Regions from separate parts of the Homo sapiens genome. Here region 1 is linked to region 2. Evidence: promoter capture Hi-C in human tissues and cell types (Jung and others, 2019). All regions are on one chromosome and are shown on one strand. The core of a region is centred on a gene start or on the middle of the fragment in contact, and the rest is flanking DNA. Distances in the headings are between cores, read along the strand shown.

Region 1 (3,817 bases), core at 383-2,882, 260 kb before region 2:
GAATCAATATTCTGTGCATACAATTTTAGGTGTGTTTTTTTCACATAAATTTTCATTTTCATGCTCATGTAGTCACAGTTTTTATCACAAGAATTATTTCTCATTCACTTATGATACCAAAAGTTAAATCAAGCTTTTAACCTTTTTCCAAAGATTATCAGGACCATAGCTCCTGTCAAAGAAGGTATAAAAAAAAGTCATCATAAATATGATAGTAAACCATACGTGACTGTGTGGTGTATCAATAGGAGAGCGCTCAAAAGAATTTCTTTTTTTTTTTTTCTTTTTTTTTTGAGATGGAGTCTCACTCTGTCGGCCAGGCTGGAGTGCAAGTGGCACAGTCTGGGCTTACTGCAACCTCTGCCTTCCAGGTTCAAGCTATTCTCCTGCCTCACCCTCCTGAGTAGCTGGGATTACAGGCACAGGTCACCATGCCTGGTTAATTTTTGTATTTTTTATAGAGACGGGGTTCCTCCATGTTGGCCAGGGTGGTCTCGATCTCCTGACCTCAGGTGGTCTGCCAGCCTCGGCCTCCCAAAGTGCTGGGATTACAGGCGTGAGCCACCACACCCAGCCCAAAAGAATTTCTTCTAGGACGTGTGCTTGCTTCAGGTGTATTGATTGCTATTCAAAGCAAGAAGCTTCTCTGGATTGTATACTATGAAGAAGCAAGGTTATTTCTGGCCTTGGTTATTATGATAGTTCTTACCCAGAAGTAAAAAAGATGGAGTGGCGCTAAGTTTATTACCTAAACACTGAAATATTTCTTATGATGAATTAGACATGGCTTCCCATAAGATACCTCAGTTGAAATATATAAATTCTAACTATTGATAATTTTTTTTTTTTGAGACAGAGTCTGGCTCTGTTGCCCGGGCTGGAGTGCAGTGGCGCAGTCTCGGCTCACTGCAAGCTCCACCTCCCGGGTTCACACCATTCTCCTGCCTCAGCCTCCCGAGTAGCTGGGACTACAGGTGCCCGCCACCACACCCGGCTAATTTTTTTGTAATTTTAGTAGAGACGGGGTTTCACCATGTTAGCCAGGATGGTCTTGATCTCCTGACCTCGTGATCTGCCTGCCTCGGTCTCCCAAAGTGCTGGGATTACAGGCGTGAGCCACCGCCCCCGGCCAACTACTGATAATTTTTAAAAGTCTCCCTTATTAGTCAAATTAGGCTAATGCCTCTAGGAAAGTTGTCAGAATATAAACCTAGCAAGGGACAGAGACATGATCACTATTCTAATCAAGCCTCTCTTGCTCAGATAATATGCTCTTGATGCTAATTTTTCAATATGCCTCATATGCCAGAACTGTAGACTCAGAACATCCAGAATTAAGCACAAATGATGCAGGCACTGAAGGCTCTGATATGGGAACACAAAGTGAATAAATTCTTGAAATCCTGGTGCTTATATTTTTGTGAGAAAGGAGAGGGGTTGAAAAAATGGTAAGACTGGTTTATAAGAAGGAAATAAGCACTTTGAAGGAAAGTAAATGATGGTGTGAGATAATACGGAAGCTGAGGGTGTGTGTATATGTTCTCTGTGGAGGGTGGCAACATCAGTGAGTGAAGAAATGTCACCATCGGTCATTTATATTTCCACCTCTTATACATCTTCAGCACCATTTCAGGAACTGCTTAAGTGTGGATGTAGATAGTGCATAGCAATATAGACAGTCCTGCCTTTTTGAGGTTAACAATAATGATTCCCCGTAAAGATATAGGTATGGCTTATTGTCATTTTTGCATTGGTTAAAAATTTTAATGCATGTAATATGTGATGCTGACTTTGGACATGGGTATCTGGAACCTGGAGGAAGGCACACCACTGCATACGGTGTGTGCTAGAACCACGTTGGATCCCTGTTGAAACATCTTAAGTGTTCTGCCCCTTAAGCCACAGGGGCGGAGCCTGAAGTTATATCCAGTTAGGGGTGCCAGGATGGCATCCTACTTATTGTCCAATCAGGCGCGCCTCAGAGCCCTGTCTGCCCCCAACCTCACCCCACCCTGTACGATCTTGTGGTGAATTTTCTTTTCTTGAGCTGGCTGCATTACCTTTCTTCTGGCTCCTGGCTCCACTGCCCTGGCTCTGTGCTCTGTGCTGGCCGTGGTAGCCGGAGGGAGGACCCAGGAGACCCCGAAGATGGGAAATGGCGAGTGTGGGAAATGGCAAGTGTGCAGGGGCCTGGGGTCCGACATGGCTGGAGGGGCCCAGGCCTCCTCGCCATCAGCATCCGATTCTGTTTCATCTGAGTTGCTCAAATGTGTGGGAAGCAGGGTATCAAATCCACCCCCGGCCTAACTCTCCTTGATCTGGCAGCAAACTGCTAAATTGTAGGTATAATTTCTGCAGTCCCCAACACCAGCTTCTGTTCTCGGATGCACAGTGTTATCAACTATTTGGTTTTTTTGTTTTGTTTTGTTTTTGCATTTGTTTTTGTTTTTTTTTTTTTGGTGGAGTCTCATTCTGTCGCCGAGGCTGGAATGCAGTGGCGCAATCTCCACTCACTGCAATGTCCGCCTCCTGGATTCAAGCGATTTTCCTGCCTCAGCCTCCTGAGTAGGTGGGATTACAGGCACCTGCCACCACGCCCAGCTAATTTTTTTTGGGGGGGGACAGAGCCTCACTGAGTCGCCCAGGCTGGAGGGCAGTGGTGTGATCTTGGCTCACTGCAAGCTCCGCCTCCCGGGTTCACACCATTCTCCTGCTTCAGCCTCCCGAGTAGCTGGGACTACAGGCACCCACCACTACGCCCGGCTAATTTCTTTGTATTTTTAGTAGAGACAGGGTTTCACCATATTAGCCAGGATGGTTTCGATCTCCTGACCTCGCAATCCGCCTGTCTCTGCCTCCCAAAGTACTGGGATTACAGGTGTGAGCCACCGCGCCCGGCCATTTTTTTGTGTTTTTTAGTAGAGATGGGGTCTCACCGTGTTGGCCAGGCTGGTCTCGAACTCCTGACCTCAAGTGATCTACCCACCTTGGCCTCCCAAAGTGCTGGAATTACAGGTGTGAGTCACCATGCCCAGCTGACTATTTGTCCTTCCTTCTCCATTAGAGAAAGATGTCATATTTTAAGTTTATCATTTTTGCAGAAGGCAGTGGATGACAGTTTTATAAAGATTTCTTTTATGTTTGTGACCTTTTCGCCTGAGAGGTAAGCAGAGAATAACCACCTGAAACTCCATTGTGAAAAAGCTTTGTGTCTCTCTTTTATCTTCTCTAAGTGCAAACCCTTATCAGAATGCCTTTGCATTGAGGTTCCCCTTTGGAAACTTTGCAGGGTTGATTGCCCTCAGCCTGTCCTCTCTTTTCCTGGTCCTGGGGTTCAGAACTGACTGGGGCTGCCCCAAGAAGCCCATAGCTTCCATGTCTCTTGGAGGGTCTAGTGAGTATCAGCTCATGTGGCCCCTCAGGGGAGCCCCTGGATGCCTTGGACCTAGAAGCAGTGACATGGTTTACTCTTCCTCTGAAAAGCTCACCTCTTGGGACACTCAGCTTGTTTTTCTCTAGCCCCAGTTTTCATTCTTTGGAGACATGTTAGTGGTCAGCTAATTGGATGGCAGTATTGAGGGGAAAGACAGAAAATGATTCTTGCCCTCTGGATTCTCTCAGAGTACTTGAAGGGAGAAAAATGATCCCAAAAGACAAGGAAAACCCACCTCTGCCAGGTTATGCAAGAACTTGAAAAGCAAAATGCACTTAGGCATGGGGGTGGGGGCACAGTCCACTGTCTCTGGGAAGGGTCGGTGAGCAGCACTTTAGTGACAGGATGGGGGTTGGGGGGATGTCCCATGTGATAGGATGACCT
Region 2 (4,077 bases), core at 1,032-3,531:
TAAAGGCTTTTAAAAAATGGAATAGAAGATTACATATACCATTTATATTCTGAAGTCCAACTCTTTCTAGTATTACTTATAAAATTTATTTTCTGAAGTCCGACTCTTTCCAACTTTGGGTATACTTTGTCTTCAAAGTATAAAATAACAATCTCTAATCATAGGATGTATTTCACGGTTAATCAAAAATTTAGGCTGAAAAGAGTAAACATATCTTTTCAAGCTAACAAACTCAGGAATCAGCAGTGCTGACTGGAACACAGAAAAGTCTAATGCAACAATCAGTGCAGGTCATCCTATCACCTGGGACATCCCTTAACCCTATTCTGTTCGCCACCCTCCTAGGAGACACTCACCACCCTCCTAGGAGACACTGCCTTGTGTGCTTTTCAGGATCTTGCACTACCTCAAAGGGCAGGTTCTCCAGTCCTTAGATATAACTTTCTACCTTTTAAGTCTGAGAGAGTCCAGAAGGCAAAAATCATTTCCGTTTTTTTTCCTATGGAATATGACCATGAAATTGGCTGTTCAGTCATGTGTCTCCAAGGAATGGAAACTAGGGTTGGGAAGAAAAGGTGAGTGTCCCAGGAGTTAGCTTTTTACAGGAATTATATACCAGAAGATTCCTCCCATCCCAGTGGATCCAGTTGCTCCCCAGGGGGCCACACCTTCCATCTCAGGCTGTCCCCTGGGAGGAGTGACCCAGGGGATGATATTCACTAGACCCTCCAAGAGACTTGGCAGCTGTGGACATCCATTTTTTTTGAGACAGGGTCGGCCTCTGTTGCCTAGGCTGGGATGCAGAGGCACGATCATAGCTCACTGCAACTTCAAACTCCTGGGCTCCAGCCATCATCCCACCTCAGCCTCAGGAGTAGCTGCGACTACAGGTGCCAGCTACCAAGCCCAGCTAATTTTATTATTATCATTTACACTAGAGACAAAGTCTTGCCATGTTGCCCAGGCTGGTCTGGAACTACTGGGATCAAGCAATACCTCTGCCTTAGCCTCCCAAGGTGCTGGAATTACAGGAATGACCCACCGTGTTCAGGAACCCAAAACAATTCTTTCAAGAAAAAGCCATACATTGCTAGCTGAAAACAAGATGACAAACTAGTGAAATATCGCCTGGGGCCAAACAGTTCATACTGTTGCTGTGAATTAAGGACAGAAGGTTAGCCTGGGGAAGTCTCTGGAAACCAAGAGATTTGCTGCCAGCCCTAGGAAGAGTCAGGATGAGAGAACACAGTGGTGGATTTGAGACCCTGCTGCCCACGTCTTTGGAAGACTCAGAGGGGAAACGGTCGCCCTTGGAAAGGAAGAAAGGACTGAGGACCACGGAAACCACAGCTCCTCCCACACACAAACCCCACACACGAGTCTGGATTCCACCTGGTGACTCGTCGTCACCGTGCAGCCTCCTCACCGGGTTCACAGGAACTGCGAGCCAGGCTGGAGGCGAGATTGCAGTTAGATATTAAACAGGTGCCCTCAGCCCCGCTGCCTCAAGGGGCCGCCTCCCTGAGAGTCAGGTCACAGCAGACGCTGACCGCCGGCTTCCCCATTGTGCCTGGGGATAAGATCTCCGAGTGCTGCTCAAGAGTCGCCGGAGTTCTCAGATCCTGAATCCCAGCAGAAAGGCTGGCGCCAACCAGGTTGAAGACCCCACGAGGGAGCCCTCTCAGCAGAATGCGGTTTCTTCACCTCCTGTCCCAGGATTCACCCCTCACTTCCCCACCAACCAAGGACGCTACACCCAGCCGCCCCCGTCCAGACCCCAAATCCCTCAGGGAGGCGGATCTGGGGTGTCCTCCCCTCTCCTCCTGTTAAACCGTTTCTGCTGCAGCCCTCGGCGTCTCGGTGCAGTGAGTCGGGCCGCGAACCTGTGTTGGTTACAGCCGCACAATCTGGGGAGACCCGGGGCTGCGGGCTCGGAGCTGCCCAGAGAGGGCGCCGGGGCCGCAGTCGCCGCGCAGGAACGGGACAGGACGCCCGGGGTCCCGGCTGCATGCCCAGCCCCACCCTGCGGCCGAGGGCCGACCTACGCCAGGGGGACCCGGGTCCGTAGATCCCGAAGTCGCCCTTGGGGAGGCCCGGGTCCAGCCACAGCCGATTACGGCCGGTTCCACCTAACCCCTCCCCCGCCTCGGGACGCCGGCCCAGCACACGCACCATTTCCCGACTTCCGCGGTGTCCCAGGTCCTACCGACAGCTCCCGCTGCCAATGCGTGTTCCAGCCAGACAAAGGCTGCCTCAGAACTTCCAGGTCGTCTCTCAGCTACAGAACCCAGAGCCGAGCGCAGGTGGGTGGAGCAGACGCCGCGGGCTTTTTCAACCACACACACTTCTCTGGGCAGTGCCTGATTGACAGTTCCCACGAACCCGCCCCACGCCCCTGATTGGATAGGGCGTCAGGTCCCGCCCCCTGAGGGCTGATTGACAGAAGAAGCGATCTTGCACAGCTGAGTGGAGCCGGATGAGCAAGTTCCTGACACAGCCCTTGGCAGGGGGGGCTTCCTCCCTGCTCTTTGATCTGAATCCTCCCGGGTTATATTTGCACTTAAGCGGAATTTCCTGCCCGTACTCAATAGGACCTCCTGCTTCTTCCTCCTGGACACGGACTGACAAACTAATTATATCTTTTTTTTTTTTTTTCCTCGAGAGGGAGTCTTGCTCTGTCGCCCAGGCTAGAGTGCAATGGTGCGAGGCTCACTGCAACCTTCGCCTCCTGGGTGGGTTCAAGCAATTCTCCTGCCTCAGCCTCCCGAGTAGCTAGGATTACAGGCACGCGCCACCACCCGGCTAATTTTTGTATTTTTCAGTAGAGGCTGGGTTTCACCATGTTGGCCAGGCTGGTCTCAAACTCGTGACCTCGTGATCCGCCTACCTTGGCCTCCCAAAGTTCTGGGATTAGAGGCGTGAGCAACTGCGCCTGGCTCCAATTATGCTCTTTTTCAATGAAATTTTTCAAGATTTTTCAATGTACAATTAAATTATTTTTTACTATAGTCACTCTGTTGTGCTAGCAAATACTAGGTCTTATTCATTCTTTGTAACTATTTTTTATACCTATTAACCATCCCCACTTCCCCCATAACTACTCCTCGCTACTACTTTTCGCAGCCTCTGGTAACCATCCTTCTACACATTTTTGGTTGTTTGAGATGGGGTCTTGCTCTGTTACCTAGGCTGGAGTGCAGTGGGGCCATCATGGCTCACTGCAACCTCTACCTCCTAAGCTCAAGCAATCCTCCCACCTCAGCCTCTCAAGTAGCTTCAGATTGTTCACTGTTGGCATATAAAAATGTTATTGATTTTTGTGTGTTGATATTGTATACTGCAACTTTACTGAATTTATTTCTCAGTTCTAATACTTTTTTGGTGGAGTCTTTAGGTATTTCCAGATATAAGATCATATTATATGCAAACAAGGATAATTTGACTTCTTCCTTCCCAATATGGATGCCCTTTATTTCTTTTTTTTTCTTTTTTTTTTTTTTGTCTTATTGCTCTAGCTGGGACTTCAAGTACTGTGTTGAACAACAGTGGTAAAAGTGGGCATTCTTATTGTGTTCCAGATCTTACAGGAAGGGCTTTCAGTTTTTCCCCATTCATTATCATGCTAGCTGTGGGTCTGCCATATATAGCTTTTATTATGTTAAGGTATGCTCCTTCTTTACCCACTTTTTTTTAGGGTTTTTATCATGAAGGGATGTTAAATATTATCAAAAGCTTTTTCAGTGCACATTGAAATGATTATATGGTGTTTGCCCTTTATTCTGTTGAAATGATACATCACATTGATTGATTTGCATATATTGAACCATCCTTGCATCCCAGGGATAAAGCCCACTTGGTCATGATGAATGATCTTTTTGGTGTATTGTTAAATTCAGTTTGCTAGTATTGAGTTGAGGATTTTTGCATCAATATTCATCAGTGACACTGGCCTATAGTTTTCTTTTTCTGACATGTCTTTGTCTGGTTTTGGTGTCAAAGTAATATTGGCTTTGTAAAATAAATTTGGAAGTATTGCCTTCTCCTCTGTTTTTTGGAATAGTTTGAGTAAGATTGGTA

Evidence for each region. Contacts are between HindIII fragments. The study calls those that stand out against the background at their distance.
Region 1: a fragment that was not itself captured here is called in contact with the fragment with the promoter of ZNF443 in region 2 in 3 of the 25 tissues and cell types used here (H1 embryonic stem cells, IMR-90 fibroblasts and dorsolateral prefrontal cortex).

What each region holds. Positions count from the first base shown.
Region 1 is chr19:12,179,035-12,182,851 of GRCh38, forward strand. All of the region lies in intron 1 of ZNF136 (zinc finger protein 136), which reads left to right. Among named protein-coding and RNA genes, the nearest start is that of ZNF136, 18 kb to the left of the region's middle. The HindIII fragment of the contact is 3,876 bases long and covers 1-3,570 here.
Region 2 is chr19:12,438,740-12,442,816 of GRCh38, forward strand. It overlaps ZNF443 (zinc finger protein 443), which reads right to left and starts at 2,282. Exons shown (of 4, transcript NM_005815.5): 1 at 2,173-2,282. The coding sequence starts at 2,175. RefSeq lists a silencer at 1,961-2,050 and an enhancer at 2,461-2,730. The HindIII fragment of the contact is 16,773 bases long and covers 1-4,077 here.